Linked DNA regions of Homo sapiens: regions 1, 3, 4, 5, 6 and 7 are each linked to region 2. The links are contacts of gene promoters, found by promoter capture Hi-C in blood cells and fetal thymus (Javierre and others, 2016). All regions are on one chromosome and are shown on one strand. The core of a region is centred on a gene start or on the middle of the fragment in contact, and the rest is flanking DNA. Distances in the headings are between cores, read along the strand shown. Region 1 overlaps THEMIS (thymocyte selection associated). Region 2 holds the start of PTPRK (protein tyrosine phosphatase receptor type K). Region 3 has its middle 32 kb from the start of THEMIS. Region 4 overlaps THEMIS (thymocyte selection associated). Region 5 overlaps THEMIS (thymocyte selection associated). Region 6 has its middle 13 kb from the start of THEMIS. Region 7 overlaps THEMIS (thymocyte selection associated).

Region 1 (2,700 bases), core at 82-2,581, 800 kb after region 2:
GAAATCTGCTTCTTTCCAAAAACTACATGATAATAGAGGCCTGACAATAAATTTTAAAAATTACAGTGATGGGCTTATATTTTTGTGGACTGTGGAGGAGCTAAAAATAAACAAGTGGGGTGGTTTAGTTCTAGTTGATACCAACATCCAAACTGATCTTTTGAGCTGTCTTTTGTAGTATTGCTAGGATCCCTTCCTTGGTCATTAGAAAAGGAATTGAGAAATATCTACAAATGACTTACCACACTCTATTTTAATTATCTGCATAAGCAATGTAAGAAATTGTGTTTGAATAATTTGGAGTCTGAGAGAATGTCATGTTATATTTGTATTCTCACACCACATCCATTATCTGGGATACTATAGATAGACGGTGGTTGAATGTACCAGTTATCCGTCAGCATACAATGCTGCATAACCACCAGAAAAACATAATGGCATACAACCAAAATCACATTCATTTAGTTCATGAAGCTGTGGAATTCATCTGACTTGAGCTGGTCTCAGATGATCTAGACTGGTTTCACCCAAACGTCTGGGGCTCCTCTGGCTGTTGTTTGCTTCAGCTTGGACAACTGGGGTGACCTAACTCTGCCCATCTCATGTTCAATCTGCAGCCAGCTAGTCTAGGCATAGCCTCATGGCATAGTGGAAGTTAAGGAATGAGCAAAAACAATTGTGCAAGCCTCTTTCAAGCCTCTGTGTCAATATCCTATTGGGCCAGAAGAAGCCACATTGATAGGCCAAAAGTCAGAGTAGGAGGGCCCTGCAAAATTCTATAGAAAGGACATGGATACAGAGATGGGTGAAGAATGAGGGCTATCCATACATCCAGTCCACCACATTAAAAATCTTAAGAAATCAATCATGAAGAACACTGTCCAAAGTTCAGGATTCATATCGTAAGGCTCAGCACTGTTCATTTTGTTAACTCAAGTGAATTATTTAATCATTCTAAAGCCTAATTTCCTTATTGGCCTTTCTCAAGCTTTAAAAGTGGTTGATTTTATAAAATCAAGCTTTTAATGAATTTCATGCAATATATGGTCTACAGGAGAAACTTTACAGGAAAGTTGTCCATTATACTATCCTTTAGTGAGCCAACATGGCTAGCCTGAATGGCCATAATTGATTAGCTAATATTTACGCTGAGAATCTTCACATATTCTGTAATCTTATTCAATTTGACAAACTTCTAGTCTGGACTTGGGTATGAATTAATTAAGTACTGGAAGTTTAATTTCCAATTGAAGTCTTCACTTTTTGTTCCCATCTGATGATTCTTTGAAGCATACAGTGTGTCAGTATAATGTCAAATGCTGTGACATCTCTTACATGTGAGATGAGTTATAGGGACCATTGATGCTGTGCCTTAATAATTCATTGTTATGATGAATTATTACTCTGAAATTGACTAAAGGAGCTTTGTCAAATTTGCATAATGCTGATTAAAAATGTGGTTTAATTTATAGTAGATGTTATGATTTGTTTTATATAAAGAGTACAGATGATACAGAAATGAAATCTGCTTTTGATTATATAATATGTAATTATGTAATATATAATGAAGTGCTGGATTAGTTAACTATAATAATAAAAACTAAGTAAAAATTTTCTAAATGAAAAATATTTTATAAGCTTCACAAGAAGAAAGTAATATACACAAATAGTCTTTGCAGATGGTTTTCTATGCCTAAAATGACTTCTTATTCTAGTTACTTAGATTGCTTCAAAAATTGTACACCTCAGTTTCCAAAATATATTGATGAACATATAATTTGTAGCTTGCTTTGACATGTCAAATGTTCTGTTTCAGACATACAGAAATGAATTGCCATGTGATAAATCTTTCATATCTCTATGAAGCATTTATTTTGGACTGATAATTTACTTGTGACCTGTGTCATTTCAGCGTCATCACGTAGACATAACCAAGAAACTTCACCCAAATCAAGCTGGCCTGGATTCAAAAGTACTGATTGGTAGTCAGAATGATTTGGTGGATGAAGAGAAAGAAAGGAGCAACCGTGGGGCCACAGCAATAGCAGGTACTGATGTGACTATAGGTCAGTTAAACCACGGTGGTTTAACTGTCCACATGACAAAGGTGCAATGGACAGATTCTTACTATTATTTTATTTGGAATATATGACTCAGCCCAAGTGATCACCCTGCTCTGCCAATCACATTGAAATGAAGATTTATGTGAAGCATGATATTGAACACTCACAATAATAATAGTAATGTTTATTGTTTTCCACTATTAGATTTTTCACCTCATTTATGGTTTTCATGGCAATGAAATATTTCAAGATTACTTGTATTGTTGTGATAATAATATTTTTGCTGGAACAATGAACAAGAAGAATTACTGTCTTGAAAAGAGGTTAAAATAATTGAGATGTTTTAAATTTAAAGAAGCGTCAGATAAGTCACTGAATGCAAGCTTGAATTATGATGGTTTAGTTTATAGAGATTGTGATCTGATATTTTTCATCTCTACTGAGTGCAAAACAAAAGCAAACGGACTTGTGGAGGAGTTGATAGCATTCAATTAAGCTACCCAGACTAACTTCCATATGGCAGAAATTTGGGATGAGCTAGCAAGGGAAATAAGAAGTTTGTTTCTTGCCAATATTTTAGACACACCAAACCCCCTCAATTTCTATTACACTTTATCTTTGAAACTTCACATTTAGT
Region 2 (2,700 bases), core at 179-2,678:
TTGCACCCTAAGGAAGGATGAACTTAACTATGCTGAACTGAATTGACAAGGGTTGAGCTAGTCAGTGTGCTAATGAGCAGGCTACTATTCTCATAGAATTTTTAAAAGTCTTTTCTGCCTGATATGTATGTGTGTATAATATGTATTTATATATGTATATATTTGTGTGTATATTTATTACATTTTTGTTTCCACAGGCTCTGTCATAAGTCTGGTCATTAATAGCATATATTTGATTAAAAGAATATGTGGCTTGGTAAATTATGTGAATGTTATATTAAAATGAATTTCACATTGTCTTGATTTACAAAGGCTAAGATGTCTGAGAAACTGAGAGATGTCAATCAACAGACTATTGTTTTAGCAATTGTACATAACACATAAAAATTCTGAATCAAAGTTATTATGTTATTCAATTGTGACCATACCTATTTTTTGTGACATTTTACAAAAATGAATAAAGTATGCACCATACAGTCTTACCACAGAAGTAAGGCAGGGTGGCATATGGCGAAACCACTTCAAGCTGCTGAAGTAGTTAACTGTGAAATATTTTACTGTCATAATATAGCATTATTTTCTGCCAGATGAATCATTCCGAAGAAGCTGTTTTCATGGTCAGTGTAAAAGTCCTTTTGTTAAATACTTATGTCTTAACTACCTACTAGATATTAAAAAAAACAAAACCACACACACACCAGACCTAGGTGCAAGGAAGGGATAATAAGCCCTGATGCAGTTCTTAGGTGAGAACTGGAAAGGGGCCGGAGGGTTTCAGAGCAACAAGCAAAGTCAGTGAAGCAGAGTAAATCCAAATACTTGGCCAATGACAAATAAACCAGAAAGGAGACACGCCAGCTGTTCACGCTGGAAAGTTACTGATCGTTTATTCTGGTTCAAGTTTTATTTATTCTATGAATAAGGGACAAGTTTTCGATGGGGGTGGGGTGTCTTATTCCTTATTACAAGAATAAGGAACGGGGAGTTTTCAAGGCAGGCGGGTGTTTCCTCAGGGCGCTTCCACACTCCCCTTTCAATCAGCAACCGCTCGGGGGGACCTCCACCTTGGGACGGAACCCCAGGACGCCTCTCCTCGGACGGCGGGGGTTTCTCTGCGCGCGTCCTCGGTCGTCTGGTCGCACGGCTTACCGAACTCTCGCCTCTCAAATTCTGAGTTCTGGAACAGGGCAGCGAGCTGCGCCGGCTCCCCTTTCTCGCTCGCTCCCTCCGAGCAGCGGCTGGCGGCGGGGCCCAGGCTGCGAACAAAGGCGGCGCGGGGCGCGCGGCCGGGGCTGGCGCGCGTCTCTCCGGCAGGAGGCGGTGGCGGCGCCGCGCCCGAGCCCGCATTCCTCAGAAGCGCCCGGAGCCCGCGGGGCGACGTCACCCCCGGCTCCGCCCCCGTCCCTCCCCGAGCAAAGTAACTCTTGACTAACAGGAGCAGCCTCCGCCGAGCATGGAGAGCTGCCGCCGCGGCCGGCCGGCGACGCTGGCGACGCTTTCGCCCCTGAGGTAGTTTGGCGACCGCGAAGAAGGAAAAAGGGCGGGCGGGCGGCTGTCCTCTCACCGTCCTCACCCCGCGAGGCCCGGCCCGCTCCTCCGTCGTGGATTTCGCGGCGATCCCCCCGGCAGCTCTTTGCAAAGCTGCTTGAAACTTCTCCCAAACTCGGCATGGATACGACTGCGGCGGCGGCGCTGCCTGCTTTTGTGGCGCTCTTGCTCCTCTCTCCTTGGCCTCTCCTGGGATCGGCCCAAGGCCAGTTCTCCGCAGGTGAGTGGCCGGGGGGCGTCCCCGACGAACGCCTGGAGTCCTGGGCTCACGAGGGGTGAGCCAGGTCCCCGCTAGGGCTGGGGACAAGGATCGTGGGGAGCTCTCTCTGTCCGGGGGTGGGGAACACAGGGTAGAGGGAGGGCTGTCCCCAGAGTTCGTGCCAGGTGGGACGCGGGGCACCCATTGTTCCTCTCCGAAGCTTGCTCGGGGCTCAGGCTGGCACGGTCTAGCCGGAGAGTGTGGGGACCTGCTGGCTTCGGCGTCTCGCGTGGCCTGCGCCGGGCTAGTGGGGAAGAGAGAAAGAAAAAGTAGTTACGACTCCCGTGACGGCACTCTGTTGCTTGTGGTGCGGGTTTGTTGCTGTCTGCCACTTGGGTGTTTAAACAAATTCCCTGGGAAGCCATTGTCAGAAATGTGGAGATTCGAAGGGACTGACCTCGGCGCGCTTTGCCAGGTGCTTTTTGTCCCGGGAATAACCTCCCCTGACTATTGTCTAACTACTTCCCCGTCCCTCCCGGAGTCCCCTTTTCTCCTCCCCCAGCTCTGGGTTGCTCCCGGGCTTGCCCTGTGCGCTCGGGCACTGCTTGGAGCATGTTCTGTGTGTGTGTTGGCGGAGCCCTGTAAGATGTGTTGAAATGCGGTTCTAAGGACCCACTCTGAGCGTTCATGGGCATCGAGGTCTGGGCGCCTGGTGGAGGAAGCCTGACTCGCGCGTGGGAGCCCGCTCCTCGGGCAAAACCACCGCCAGGCTGGCCCCGCGCTCCCCGGATCCGGCCTGGGGCTCTGGCCCCGCGCTCCCCGGATCCGGCCTGGGGCTGGAAGCGGACTGTAAATGTCTGCCTTCTGCCGGAGAACCCAAAAGGAGACAAGTGGAGCGTCTCGCTGTAGCCCTGGGGGTTCTCGGTCAAGCCGCTCAGAGAAGTCCGTGAACC
Region 3 (2,700 bases), core at 160-2,659, 590 kb after region 2:
TCTGGTTTTGGGTGTTCTTTCTTATTTGCCCGGAAACAAAAATCATGATCCCTCTGCTTCACCACACCCTCACTGCTGGGGTTACCTCGAGCTTCACTTGGTTACCACATTCTGCTTTTCTACTTCTGATCTTATTGTGTTTCTCTTTTGCTGATTATACTTCCCTTCAGATAGAGGTATCTTGTTTCTAACTTAAGCTCATTTCTTTGCTTCTTTAAGTGATGATTTGAATGTGGCATTCTTGACCTTGGTTGAACCACCCAAACAGCAAGAGGGGCCTAGACCCTTTCTGGGGAGTCTCATGAGACATCCACTCATGAACTGGGCCTCTGTAGCTCCTGTTTAGAGAATTCTGTAGCTCCTGTTTAGAGATGCATAATATCTCAAAGATAAGCAAACAAACAGCAGGGTTCATCACCTCTTTTTGCTCTCCAGATAGTAAGGGCTTCAAGATTGACAAACAAGAATAACTCAGCGAACCCCATTTGCCACCTCCAAATATCTCTAGATTCTAATCTTCATGTTTTTTCATATCATGTTTAATAATACAACAGACAACAATTAGAGTTTTTCTTTAACTGTGGAAAGTGACTACTTCTTTCAGTTTAAAAAAAAGCGTAACTTAGTCATAATTATGACATTAGAATCTGGGTAAATGAGACAATGGCCTTGCTTCTGAAAAAGCTTAGTTTTTTCTATGCCTCTTCCTTTTTTTCAGTCCTGTCATTCTCTTCTCACACCTCTGAGACTCAGTATATTCATTTATCATTGCTTTGCTCTAACAGGGAGAATTAGAATATTCTATCAAAGTAATTTAACAACATAGGAATTCACATGATGCAAGAAGTACAGTGACAGGCAAGCCAGGATTGGTACAGCAACTCTATGATGTCAACAGTACTCAGTTCCTTCCATAATTGCTTTTCTTTTAAATACGTTTTTAATTTTGGAATAGTTTTAGTTTTGCAGAAAAATTGCAAAGATAGTGCAGAGGATGCTCATATACTTCACATCCAATTCCTCCTGTTGTTAATGTATTATGTTAGTATGCACATTTGTCACAACTGAAAAAAAAATTGATACATCAGTATTATTATATTGTATTTGGATTATCTTAGTTGTTTCCTAATGTCCTATTAGAGTTCCAGGATACCATATTACACTTACTTTGTCATTTTTTTTAGATGTACAAAATTTTTGATGATCTTGAAAGTTTTGAGGAGCACTGGTCCAGAATTTTATAGATTGTTCCTCAATAGTGATTTGTCTGATGTTCTTCTCATTATTAGACTGGAGTTATGGAATTTTGGGAGGAAGACTACAGAGGTAAAGTGCTATTCACATCATATCATATTCATAGTGGCAGGAGGCAGACAAATGTGTAGGCAGATGGGGCGGGTCCCCAGTGAACCTTGACCTTCAAGCTGAAGACAGTTTAAAGCCTGAAAACCAAGCCATGAGTCAAATCCACAGACCAGATTGAGAAACTCTCTTCCCATTTGGCTTGCTTTCCTCTGATTGATCTTCACCCTTCACCTATTTTACATATACCTACCTTTCCCTAATTAATTTTTTACACTGCCATGGCCACCTTTGAATGGCGCCTTTGTTTTAGCCTTTTTTGCATACTCACAAACGAATTAGCATGCACTTCCCATTCTGAGTCCATAAAAGCCCTGGCCCAGGCACAAGGAGAGTGAGACCACCCAACTTCGAGTTGGGGCCAACCCTCGTGTCCTCTCTACACTGAGAGCTGTTTTGCTGCTCAATAAAACTATTCTCCACCTTCCTCACCCTTTAATTGTTAGTGTAAACTTATTCTTCTTGGACATGGGACAAGAACTTGGGACCCATCAAATGCAGGGGGCTGAGTGTGCAGTTGCAGTGGCCACGCGATTTGCATTAGAGTGCAAGCCAGGTGCAGCCCAGTGGCCTGAGTAGACTGGGCATCTCCAGCAATGAAACTGGGCCCAAGGAGGGCCTGGGCAGAGGTTTTGTCAGCTGGAGGTCTCCAGAAGGGAAAGTGGCCAAGAAAAATCCTGCATCAATATCAGTGGTACATGCTATCCACATGACTTATCACTTTTTGATGTTGACTTTGATTACCTGATTAAGGTAGTGTTTGCTAAGCTTCTCAACTGGAAAGCTAAATTTTTCCCACCTTTCCGTACTGTACCCTTTGGAAGGAAGTCATTATGCACATGTCACATGTAAAGTGTGAGGAATTAAGGTCCATCTCCTTGAAGGGGTCAATATCCATATAAAATATTTGGAATTCTCCTGCCTGGGATATTTGTCTATTTTCCCTTATTTATTTATTTATTTATTTATTTATTCAATCATTTCTTTATCTCAGTATGGACTCATGAATATTTGGTTTTGTTTATATATATATATTTTTTATCATACTTTAAGTTCTAGGGTACATGTGCACAATGTGCAGGTTTGTTACATATGTATACATGTGCCATGTTGGTGTGCTGCACCCATTAACTCATCATTTACATTAGGTATATCTCCTAATGCTATCCCTCCCCCTCCCCCCACCCCACAACAGGCCCTGGTGTGTAATGTTCCTCTTCCTGTGTCCAAGTGTTCTCATTGTTCAATTCCCACCTATGAGTGAGAACATGTGGTGTTTGGTTTTTTGTCCTTGCGATAGTTTGCTGAGAATGATGGTTTCCAGCTTCATCCATGTCC
Region 4 (2,755 bases), core at 137-2,636, 660 kb after region 2:
GTTTATACATGAAATTATGATATTATTTATGTCATTTTGAGGGTAAAAATTTGGGTGAAATATGGGAAATATTTGATCAATAATAGTATCAGAAGATGCACAGTCACTGATTTGTTCCACAATCATAGATAAGTGTTCTGTGGATACACAGGAGGGATATTTATTTCATACACACACCCTCAAATCCCTTTGCTCTGATAATGTTTACTCAATGAGCCACAATGATGACTTCTATCATGACAACCACTTGTAAGCCCTCTTAGTACAGTTTTATTTAATCTATTAAATTAATAAATTTACCATTAAACAAATACGTTTTTAGCTAATGCACGAAACAGTGATTTATTCTTCTTCTATCACTGAAACTTAGTCACCTGAATTTCTTACACATCACTCAGAGTGACTGAAATGTTGTTCTTTTCTGGGTTTTGGTCCTAGTACTTATTTAATCTGATTTTATTTATTTATTTATTTATTTTTGGCTCTCAGGCCCCAGCATTTCCAATCTGTAGGAACTTTTATTGCTTCCCCATGTTCAGATGTTTTAAGTAAGACTCACCAACATTTCCTACAGTCTTTTGCATATTTCAGTCTTTAGGCTTGACTTCCTGGATAATACTTAAACCCCCAATTCACGAGAAAAATCCTATATTCTTAGAGGTTAGGGAGATTTTACCTTAGTTCTTAGCACAGCCATAACTTTTCTTATTATGTAATCCCAATGCCTTGCCTTCTTAATACTGATATTTTGGGGATGAGAGAGTCTCTATGGCCTGGAAAGATCATTTCCTAGCATTTCTCAGATGTACCTTTAGTGCTATATCTAGTGTCCAACTGGGAGTATCCACCCTTAGTAAAGCTGAAAGCTTGCTTTTTCGTGTCTACTTATATGTACCCTGCATTAAAATATCATGCTCACTTATTTTTAGACACATTCTTCATAGAGTGGGAATGACATTGTCTCTGCCTTACAGGAAATGCAGACCATCTCTTTGTGGAAGACTGGCCATATAAATGTCTATTGCAACCATGGCCTCTTTTGAACTTCATTCCTGTGGTCGCCTATCTAGAGGTTCATTTGGAAAATTGAATTTATCACCATAATGGTCTCAATGCCACATCAACTGCCATGTCTAGGTACACAATTGCCAATAAAATAGTTTTACACTTAAACATTTCCTTTAGAGGGATGCTCCTTCTTGATAATTTGTGCTATCCTGAAGCAAAAAATAATCACACCTATTTATAATGAGCAAAGTTGCATCTCCACTGGCAACCCCAGTGGATATGGTTCTATCAGACACTATCAGCCATACTTTGCAGATATAATTTCCTAGCTTATAAAAATATATCTCAGATGGTCACATGAGCTCCCTCTTTATGCAAACTTAACTAGTAGAGATTCATATTATAGAACCACTACCCTCATTACTCCTTGTCTAGAGAATTCACAACATAGTCAGCTTGTATATACTTCACTTGTATATTTGATATCAAACATACCAAATAAAGATATAACCCATGCAAAAACCTTTGACTTGACCATGCTTTAAACTCCTTATGTAGAAGGACCACTATTATGTTCACAACAATTAATTGTCATTTTACAATGACACAAAATTATAACAACATTCACTAATCATCTAATAAGTGATAAAAAAAACTGTTTTACTAGCTGTGGGGGAGGTATACATATAGTTAAGATAATGTCTCTTCTCTAGGAAATCATAATAAATTGCAAAATATACATAACACTCCAATTGAAAGAGTGATAATAATCACATAAGGCTTTAATGGAGATACGCATGAAGTGCTATCAGAGCACAGAGGAGAGAATTAATTCTTACTTAGGTGTAGGGATCAAGGAAGGCTTTGAAGAAAATGATAAATATGGGCTGAAGCTTTGGAATTGGTTGGACTTTGACAAGTTAATAAGGATGTAAAGGGATGGGTGGCCTGGTGTAGTGGCAGGGGGTGGTAGGGCAGGCAGTAATGGAGGGAGAGTGCATTTGAGTAAAGGGGAGAAACATCCAATGCAGTTTCCTATTTGCTGACTGTCACACGTTTTTAACTTTGTAGGGAAGATGGAAGAAAATCTATTGAACCAATTGTTTTGGCTGTTCTGATGTGATCACAGCATTGCTTATATGGATTGTCAAACAAGGGATGAGCTCATAAAAGGATATTAATGTGTCGTTTTTATTGAGCAAAGTAGCATTACAGAAAAGGTGATTTCAAAGGCACATGGCTCTTTCATTACAGCCTTCAGGGGCAATGTTTGATCACTGAAAACAGGCTGCTTTGTTCCAGCTTTCTCTGATGTTTGGCATTATTCTGAATACATATGCTTTGACTTGGATAGAATCAGTCTGTAAAGATTTAATAGATTCGAGATTTGCTTATTCAAAATACATGTTTTATGGTTAAAATGAAATGAAAGCCATTTTAATATGTATGTCTATATATACACAGATATATTTCAGACACATATCTCAGCAATTTTTTTAAAAGCAATTACACATATTATGTGTTTGTTTTGAGATAATGAAAGTTGGATATTTTTAAAATTCACCATTTTAACTTATCAAGAAGGAAAAAATATATTTTAAGACACATTATATTGGTGATAATAAAATACAAGATTTCCAGTTTTAGCGACTTAAGCTTTGCTATATGTCCCTGTCACCTATCATAGACATAACTTTCTAGCTTTCTAGTGCTGGACATCTCTGAACACTTTCTTTATTAAAAATGA
Region 5 (2,700 bases), core at 124-2,623, 640 kb after region 2:
TGGCTTGCTCAAAGAGTTTATGGAATTTTGAAATAATGGTAATTTGAACTAATCTTAGATGAGATACAGGCTTGCCCTCCATTTTTCCCTCCCTTCCATCCTCCTTTTAACTTTAGACAAATGAGATTGGATAATTTTAATGTACTGTTTGACGCAAATTTACTTTGAGCACCTGTTGTATGCTGTGGTGAAACATGATGCATGGAAAAGGGGAACATATAAAATAAAAGCCCCAGCCATCAAATTTTTCATTCAAAGAAAAGATACATAATATAATTAGAGGATAATAATAGAGATGGCACCTAAAAAGTGGCAGATCAACTGTACATGCATTGCATGCCTAAAAAATGGAGGAAAACGGCATGGCTGTAACCTGCGTGACTGGGCTACACCCGGGGGAGGAGTCTGGGCAGGGTGGGCTTCGCAGCTGGGAGGAAATCAGGTGCCCGAGGTGGGGGCGCATTTCCCGGAGCTGGTAGGGAAAATACCAAACTGTGGAAGTGGCCTAGGCAGCCGGGTTGTAAATAGTTGAAGACCAGCTTGGTTAGGATCCAGTCCAGCAGCTCCAGCTCACGGAAGGCCAGAGGCAGCTTCTCCATCCTTCTTCCCCGACTGCACTAAGTCCTCGTTTTTTTTCTTTCTTTTTCTACACCCTGCCCGCAAATAATTTGCTCATTTTTTAAAAAAGCAATATTCTACATTTCTGGTAAATCTGTTCTTTTTTTTTTTTCAGAGTGACACAGCATTCTAGATCACTGAAACTAATCTCATTTTACAGAGACATTTACACACATTTTTAGAAAATTATTTCAGCCATTATCAATAAAGAGAAGAATAAAACTTTCTTTTCATATTAACAGGAGCAACAATTATCTTTCTTCATGATACTTAAATATAAGGAAACAGATAATCAATGAGTAAATGAATGTCCAAGAATATTCATTTATCCAGCTGACACTCTTTGAGTGGCTACCTAATACCTGTCAGGATGCTGAATTTGGAGCAATAAAGATCACACAATCATCATGGCCCTAACTCTCAAAAAAGTCCAAGCCTCTTGCAGAGTTAGACATAAGAGTTACAAAGGCATTTTAAGATATGCTATTTGTTAACATATGCTCAACAGGTTAGAGGATCATTCCTGGATTGATATTGTTTCTGTCAACAATAATTAGAACACCGAAATTTTCATGTAATATACCTCAGAGAACATTTTCCTCTGTGCATTAGAAATAGCATTCTTTTGAAAAAGATTTTTTTTCCTAAATTGACATCTAGCAAATTACTTCTTATTGTAACAGAGGCTTTACCATTTAAATTAGTATTTTAATCCACAAAGATATAAACAAGAATACAATTTTTAATTTCTGCTGTTAAGAAATTTCTCTTCTTACTAGAAACAATAAGCAATTCATTAAAAACCTGACAGTGGAAATTAACTACTGATAGATGCCATTCATCTGACAAGTGACCTATAGCATTTTATTTTTACTGCTGGGCTTCATGCTAGTTGCTTTTCTAATTCAGATCCCTTTGAAAGACAAAGCAGAATTATTCAAGAAAGCATCATGTTTTTAGAAAACCACAGGCTCACTGCTCAGTAATATTCAGAAATTTCTATTTATTAATTTATTGAGAAGTATTAATCTCATCTTATTTATTAAGAGTCACTAGAAAAAAATTCATGCCAACCTTTCTGGAGAAAATGACTTTTGGTCCCAACTGACCAGAATCCATTTTGTCATTCACCTTAATTTGGTTATTTTTGGTCGATACTCATAGCCTTCAGTTCTTGAAAGTAGATGATAGCTATCAGTCTCTTACCCCATAAACCTGAAGGCCTAGTACAACCAAAAAAAGTCTAACATCAAATTTTGCCAAATGTAAAAAGCATTTTTTTTTTGCAAATAGATATAATAACAGCTATATGGCCACGTGTCAGCTTGATGTAGTCCCAGCTGTCTTTTGAAGCTGTCTGACAGTACCTTGCCTGAAAAGTTCATTAGAGACTTCTGCAACTGTGTTTCAGCAGCAGGATTCAGCTACCCTTCTAGTTAGAATCAGGTAACAAAACTGTTTTGAATCAGCTGCTGAGCTGGAACGGTAGAGCATAGGGCCCATGTTGGGTTCACAAGATTCTTATACCACTTTGCAAGAACAGGAATGCCTATGTTATATTTGCAACTAATGAACACATTTTGAACACCACTGATTTCACCCATGAAGCAGCCTTACTAAAAACCATTATTCTAATTAACAAAGCCTGTATTAATAGGAAACAAAAGCATGTGATATTTGCGGTAGTTGTTTTAAGAGCATGGACCTTTGATTAGTCTTTGCATGTTGTGTAGCCACCCTGGGTTTTATTTCTGATTAGTGTATCTCAAATGAGAACTAGCATTTTCCTGATCCTTTCCCTGTGGTTAAAACTCTTGAACAGATGCATACAGGCATACTTCATTTTTTTTTGTGCTTCACAAGTAAATATTGCTTTTTCTTTTTTAACAAATTGAAGGATTGTGGCACACCTGTATCGAGCAATTCTATTGGCACCATTTTCCACCAATGTGTTCTCCCTTTGTGTCTCTGTGCCACATTTTGGTAATTCTTGCAGTATTTCAAACTTTTTCATTAGTATATTTGTTGTAATCATCTGCAATCAATGATCTTTGATGCTACTATTGTTATTGTTTTGGGGCA
Region 6 (2,700 bases), core at 75-2,574, 610 kb after region 2:
GGGAAGTATGATAAACCTCCTTCCACACCCCAGTAAAAGCTTCAAAAGTGTTTTCTGTGGTTCTTCTAAAAGTAAATTTCCTAAAAATAGGACAAAAATGGATCCATCAATGACGAACTGTTACAATGGGACCTCAATCTGTGTAAGATTAAAATTATATAAACTTGATTCTAAAAATGGTTCAATATCAATAAGTAGCAGCTTTTCAGATTCACTAGTAATGTGTAAAATCAGGTCAAAGTGTGTTTCTGGTCAATTACTGTTGTGATAACCATAGCAGGCACACATAAAATATTTTACTTGGCACTTTATCTGTAATATTACTTTGTTTCAAACAAAATAGAACTTTATGAAGATTATATAGTTACCTCCTGGCTCTACTGTAGAAAAGCATGTAACTTTACTGTAAAGTGGGAACAAAGGCGGCAAATGTCATTTACATACATTTGAAAGTTCCTTTCATTCCTTATATTAATGTTTGGTCAACGATGGACTACATATGTGATGGTAGTCCCTTAAGATTATAATACCATGTTTACACTGTGCCTTTTTCTATGTTTAGATATGTCTAGACACAAAAACACCACTGTGTTACAGTTGCCTACATCATTCAGACAGTAACATGCTATACAGGCTTGTAGCCTAGGAGCAATAGGCTATACCTGATGGCCTAGGTGTGCAGTAAAAGTACACACCTAGGTTTGTGTAAGCACACTCTATGATTAACGCAACAATGAAATTGCCTGAGGATGCATTTCTCAGAACATATCTCATTGTTAAGTGACACATGACTATGTTTCATAATGAAATCGTCCCTTAGGAATTTACAAAGTGGCAAGAAAAAGAAAAACTATGTTTTTCTTAGTATCTTCACAGACATGCGTTTCCAGGAGAGCAATACAGGTTGAGCATTTCTGATCTGCAAATCCAAAAATCCAAAATGCTCCAAAATCTGAAACTTTTTGAGCACCAACATGACAACACAGTGGAAAATTACAAGTCTAGCCTCATGTTGAAGTCAAAACTCATTCAAAACTTTGTTTCATGCACAAAATTATTAAAAATATTGTATAAAATTACATTCAGGTTATGTGTATAAGGTGTCTACAAAACATAAATAAACTTTGTATTTAAACTTGGGCCCCATCCCCAAGATATTTCATTATGTATATGGAAATATTCCAAAATCTTAAAAGAATCTGAATCATTTTTTGTCCCAAGCATATCAGATAAATTCTCAACCTGTATAAGACTTGGCCTCCACCATTTTATGTGCTGTTTGCTAAGGAGTTTAGGAGCAATATTTTCTCCCAATTAAGTTCTAGCAAGCACACAGTCCTTGATCATCATTTCCAATCAATACTGGTATTCTAAAATAGAGTACTTGTGATTGAATTCTAATGCATGAGCTGTAAAATGTTATACAAGAGAAAAATATTCAGCTTATTTATGAAGTTCATATTTACTTCAAATACAGATTAAATAATGCTTTGGTGATTAAAAGCCTGAATTTACAGTTTACTTCAACGGAGAAATCTCTCAGTGAGACAAACACTCTAACATTGGCCTGTGTCCAGGTCTGGTCATGATTCTATTCTGTCATCTTGGGGAGGAGAAGGTAAGAATGTAGGTAGAATTTAACCTGGTTCAGGTTCAGATTATTCAATTAAATACAACAAATATGTCAAGTCCATTCATTTGTTTTTTTTGAAAACATTTCTTAGCATAGTGCTGGTGAAGGTATTTGGAGCTATTGAGTGCATCCAATCAAAGTAGACCCAAATCTCCTTTCCCTAAATGTAGAATTCAGGAACAAAGGAAAAAGCATGCAAATGGACACATAAAAAATATTCAGCGAATGGAAACTGAAAAGGAAGAGAGAATTGTGAAAATAATATAAAGATTAGAAAAGGCTTCATAGAGGTAAAGGAACTAGAACTTAAGTGATGAGTATAAGAGACTTTTTTTTTCCATCCAGTATCTATTTCCTCTTTTATGAGGGATTACTTGATGCTCTGCTCTATGTCCAGGCATTTCATGTCCAATGTCGTAATGGTCCTGTGACCTAATCTGGCCAGCAGAGCATTACGTTCACTTGGCCACTGATGTCATTCAGGCATGGAAAAATATCCTAGTCAGACCCCTGAGAAAAGTAATTCATAACAATCTTTTCTCACTGCATTAGGGATACAGATCTGGAAGAGCAAGTCATCCACTTTGCTTAGACGAGAAGATTCATGGTAGAAGCATTGGAATTCAGGCTAAGATCTGGAGGTTTTAACTTCAACATGAAAGCAGTTGGACTTTGTAAGGCAAAACAAACAACATTTGGCCTACAGGCACTATTATAAAATACAAACAGGTATACAAAATTTGTCATATTTTCAGGAAGATTATAGATTTTCCTCTTACATTTGCTTAACACCTTTAAACTTTTTTCAGTTGTGTATTATGTGTATTAATAATTTAAGTTAGGCCATAGAAGTAGGTCATATTCCAGATTAAGAGGTTTGAGAATTCTCAAAGACAGGTTTGGGTTTCTCATGGCACTTCTCAGACCAATTCTGGTTACAAGTCATCCCTGGGTCTAAAATAATATGGAAGCTTGGAAATAACAAGGTAACTTACACAGATCTTCAATTATCTCAGCCTACATATGTGACTCAGAACTTGAGTAAGATGCAGATTGACTTCCAAATT
Region 7 (2,700 bases), core at 54-2,553, 620 kb after region 2:
ATTCCAAGTATTCCAGAAGCCCTATCCTGTGCTCTTTCTCAGTCATTATATACTATCTCCCTCAAGTGTAACCACTATCATGACTTTTGTCCATTTATGACCCTTACATAAATGGAAAATTACAGTATGTATTCTTTTCTGGTTGGTATATCTGTTTAACATTATATTTGTGAAACTAATCCATGCTGTTTTATATATAGTTCATTCATTTTCAGTGTATGTTATTCCATTAGATGAATATACTACAATTTATGTATTAATTCTACTGCCAATAGGCATTTGGATTATTTCTGGCTTGGAGTTTCCAGTAATTTTGTCATGAAAATTCTTGTACATGTGTGCCTACGTGTATATGCATTAAGTAGGGCATAAAAGTAAGTAGGATTACTATGTCATATTGTGTGTGTACATTCACCCTTGGAAGCTAATGAAAAGCAAGTTTCTTAAGTAACCCAATTTACTTTCCTACAAGCAGTATATTTGTGTTCCAATTAACTCATATGCTTAGTAACACGATATTATCAGTCTTCTTAATTTTAGTCATTCTGGCAAGAGTATAGTGGTAGCTCATGGTTTTAGTTTTCATCTCCTTGATGACTAATAAGATTGAGCACCTTTTCATATATTTCTTGGATTTTTGGAAATACTCTTTTTTGCAGAGGTGGTTTATATTTCTTGCTCATTTTTCTGTTGAATTTTATACATTTTTGTTATTGATTTGATGGAGTTTATGTGTATATATATATTTGGGATATTTACTCTTTGTCAATTTTCTGTGTTGCAAATTACTTTCTTAGTCTATAGTTTCATATTTTATTTTCAAAATTGTGTCTTTTAATGGACGAAAGTTTTCCACTTTCGTGTTAGTGTAGTCAGTTTATATTTTCCTTTTTCTGTGTTGTCAACAATTTTTTTCTTTACCCTAAGTTCATGAAAATATGTATTATCTTCTAGAAATCCTATTGTTTACCCTCACCTTCAGATCTGTAGTCTATCTGGGTTTATGTTTTTGTATATGGTTTGAAGTTGAGAGCAATATTTATTTTTCTCTTCTACAGAGTCAATTGGTGCAGTGACATTTATTGAAAAGCTGCCTTTTCTCTATCATCTTACTCTGTTAACCTTACTCAGAAATAGTGTCCATACATGCCTGGGTCTTTTCCCTTTTATGCTGTTCTATTCATCTACTTGCTATCCTTACATCAATTTTTCCTGTCTTAAATAATGTGGATATGCAATATCTAATATATACTTTCTATTAGATTATATTTAATAATATGCTACAGAGCCATGGTTCTCAAACTTGGTTGTGAAATAAAAATACCTGGATTGATTTTAAAATATAAATGCCTAGGTTTCTCCTCAAGAGGTAAAGATTTAATTATGTAAAAGGTAAGGCATCACCATCAGTTTTTGAAAATCTTCCTGATGATTATAACACACAGCCAAATTTGATAACTACTGCTTTAGAACAAGTTCTCTCAATTTATTATTCCTCTTTAAGTTTAGCACTTTGAATTTTCACATACATTTTAGAATTAACTTATCAACTTCCTCAAAAGTCCTCCTGGAATTTTGATTAGCTGTGCTTTGGTTTGGAGAAAATTGGCATCATTTTAAATTAAGTCTTCTGACCCACTAATCTGGTATAGCTCTTTAGTTATTTAAGTCTATTTCATTTCTGTCAATAACATTTTATAATTTTTTGTACAGATCTTGTATTTTTTCAGATTTATTCTTAGTTATTTGATTTTTTCATGCCATTTTAAATGGTATTTTTAAAATCATTTTCTCTTTGTTGTACTTATTGAATTTTAAGAATATATCTTTAACATTTTGTATATGTTATGTGTACATTTGCATTGTCTGTGAATATTGATGGATTTTGCTTCTACTATAATACTGAATAGAGGTAATGATAAAAAAAAGATCTCTGTATTTCATTCATGACCACTGAGAGCAATTTTCAGTAATCCACCATTCATGATGTTTGTTTTAGGTTAAATTAGTTCTAGTTTTCTAACAGGTTTTAAAAACTTGAATATATATTTGACATTTATCAAATATTCTTTTTGTAACTTTTATGATAATTACATAGTTTTTTTTACATTAAAAAGTGTTAAACATGCTTTTAATTGTGGAACACAACCAATGGGGTCATATTTCACTGAATTTGGCTTACTATTTTTTTTTGTTAGAATGTTTGTATCTCTTTTAGGGAATAATATTGGCTTATAGTTTTTATTTTTTTGTAATATCCTAGCCAGGCTTTATTATCAAGTTAGTTGAACTTACGGAACTTCTTGGTTGGAGTCTTTTGTTATTTTCCTAAAGATTTTATGTAACTTTGGTGTTATCGCTTATTTAAATATTTAGTAGAATTTTCAATGAAGGCCTCCTGAGCTGAGATTTCTAATATAGAAATGTTTTAAATTATGACTTCAATTTTTTAATAGTAAAGTCTTTTTATCCATGAGCATAGTTTATCTCTCATTTAAACAAGAGAATAAAATATCTTCTACATAATTTATCACAGTTTAAAAAAGTGTCTCTATAGAGTTCTTATGTATCCTAGGCTAGTTCCTAGAATGCACACACACATACTTATATCATGTGTATATATATATTGCTATATTGAGATCGTATTTTGTCTGTTTTCCCATTGATTGTCTCTGAAGTGAAGAAATGCAGTTAAATACG

What was found. Contacts are between HindIII fragments. The CHiCAGO score rates a contact against its expected background, and 5 or more counts as called.
Region 1: a contact is called between a fragment that was not itself captured here and the fragment with the promoter of PTPRK in region 2, in 3 of 17 cell types (fetal thymus, non-activated CD4 T cells and total CD8 T cells). The highest score is 9.9, in fetal thymus.
Region 3: a fragment that was not itself captured here is called in contact with the fragment with the promoter of PTPRK in region 2 in 2 of 17 cell types (fetal thymus and naive CD4 T cells); the score reaches 8.8 in fetal thymus.
Region 4: a fragment that was not itself captured here is called in contact with the fragment with the promoter of PTPRK in region 2 in 8 of 17 cell types (fetal thymus, naive CD4 T cells, naive CD8 T cells and 5 more); the score reaches 23.1 in fetal thymus.
Region 5: a contact is called between a fragment that was not itself captured here and the fragment with the promoter of PTPRK in region 2, in 1 of 17 cell types (fetal thymus). The highest score is 18.2, in fetal thymus.
Region 6: a fragment that was not itself captured here is called in contact with the fragment with the promoter of PTPRK in region 2 in 1 of 17 cell types (fetal thymus); the score reaches 12.6 in fetal thymus.
Region 7: a contact is called between a fragment that was not itself captured here and the fragment with the promoter of PTPRK in region 2, in 1 of 17 cell types (fetal thymus). The highest score is 16.7, in fetal thymus.

The regions. Positions count from the first base shown.
Region 1 is chr6:127,719,036-127,721,735 of GRCh38, reverse strand. It overlaps THEMIS (thymocyte selection associated), which reads left to right. Exons shown (of 6, transcript NM_001010923.3): 5 at 1,913-2,048. Among named protein-coding and RNA genes, the nearest start is that of LINC02536, 57 kb to the right of the region's middle. The HindIII fragment of the contact is 619 bases long and covers 1,022-1,640 here.
Region 2 is chr6:128,519,327-128,522,026 of GRCh38, reverse strand. It overlaps PTPRK (protein tyrosine phosphatase receptor type K), which reads left to right and starts at 1,428. Exons shown (of 30, transcript NM_002844.4): 1 at 1,428-1,768. The coding sequence starts at 1,669. RefSeq lists enhancers at 1,066-1,660, 1,661-2,254. The HindIII fragment of the contact is 3,706 bases long and covers 1-1,969 here.
Region 3 is chr6:127,932,036-127,934,735 of GRCh38, reverse strand. No RefSeq gene overlaps it. Among named protein-coding and RNA genes, the nearest start is that of THEMIS, 32 kb to the right of the region's middle. The HindIII fragment of the contact is 1,446 bases long and covers 687-2,132 here.
Region 4 is chr6:127,858,398-127,861,152 of GRCh38, reverse strand. All of the region lies in intron 1 of THEMIS (thymocyte selection associated), which reads left to right. Among named protein-coding and RNA genes, the nearest start is that of THEMIS, 41 kb to the left of the region's middle. The HindIII fragment of the contact is 1,035 bases long and covers 869-1,903 here.
Region 5 is chr6:127,877,654-127,880,353 of GRCh38, reverse strand. All of the region lies in intron 1 of THEMIS (thymocyte selection associated), which reads left to right. Among named protein-coding and RNA genes, the nearest start is that of THEMIS, 22 kb to the left of the region's middle. The HindIII fragment of the contact is 3,125 bases long and covers 1-2,700 here.
Region 6 is chr6:127,912,483-127,915,182 of GRCh38, reverse strand. It overlaps a transcript of THEMIS not described here. Among named protein-coding and RNA genes, the nearest start is that of THEMIS, 13 kb to the right of the region's middle. The HindIII fragment of the contact is 2,565 bases long and covers 42-2,606 here.
Region 7 is chr6:127,895,457-127,898,156 of GRCh38, reverse strand. All of the region lies in intron 1 of THEMIS (thymocyte selection associated), which reads left to right. Among named protein-coding and RNA genes, the nearest start is that of THEMIS, 4.3 kb to the left of the region's middle. The HindIII fragment of the contact is 7,514 bases long and covers 1-2,700 here.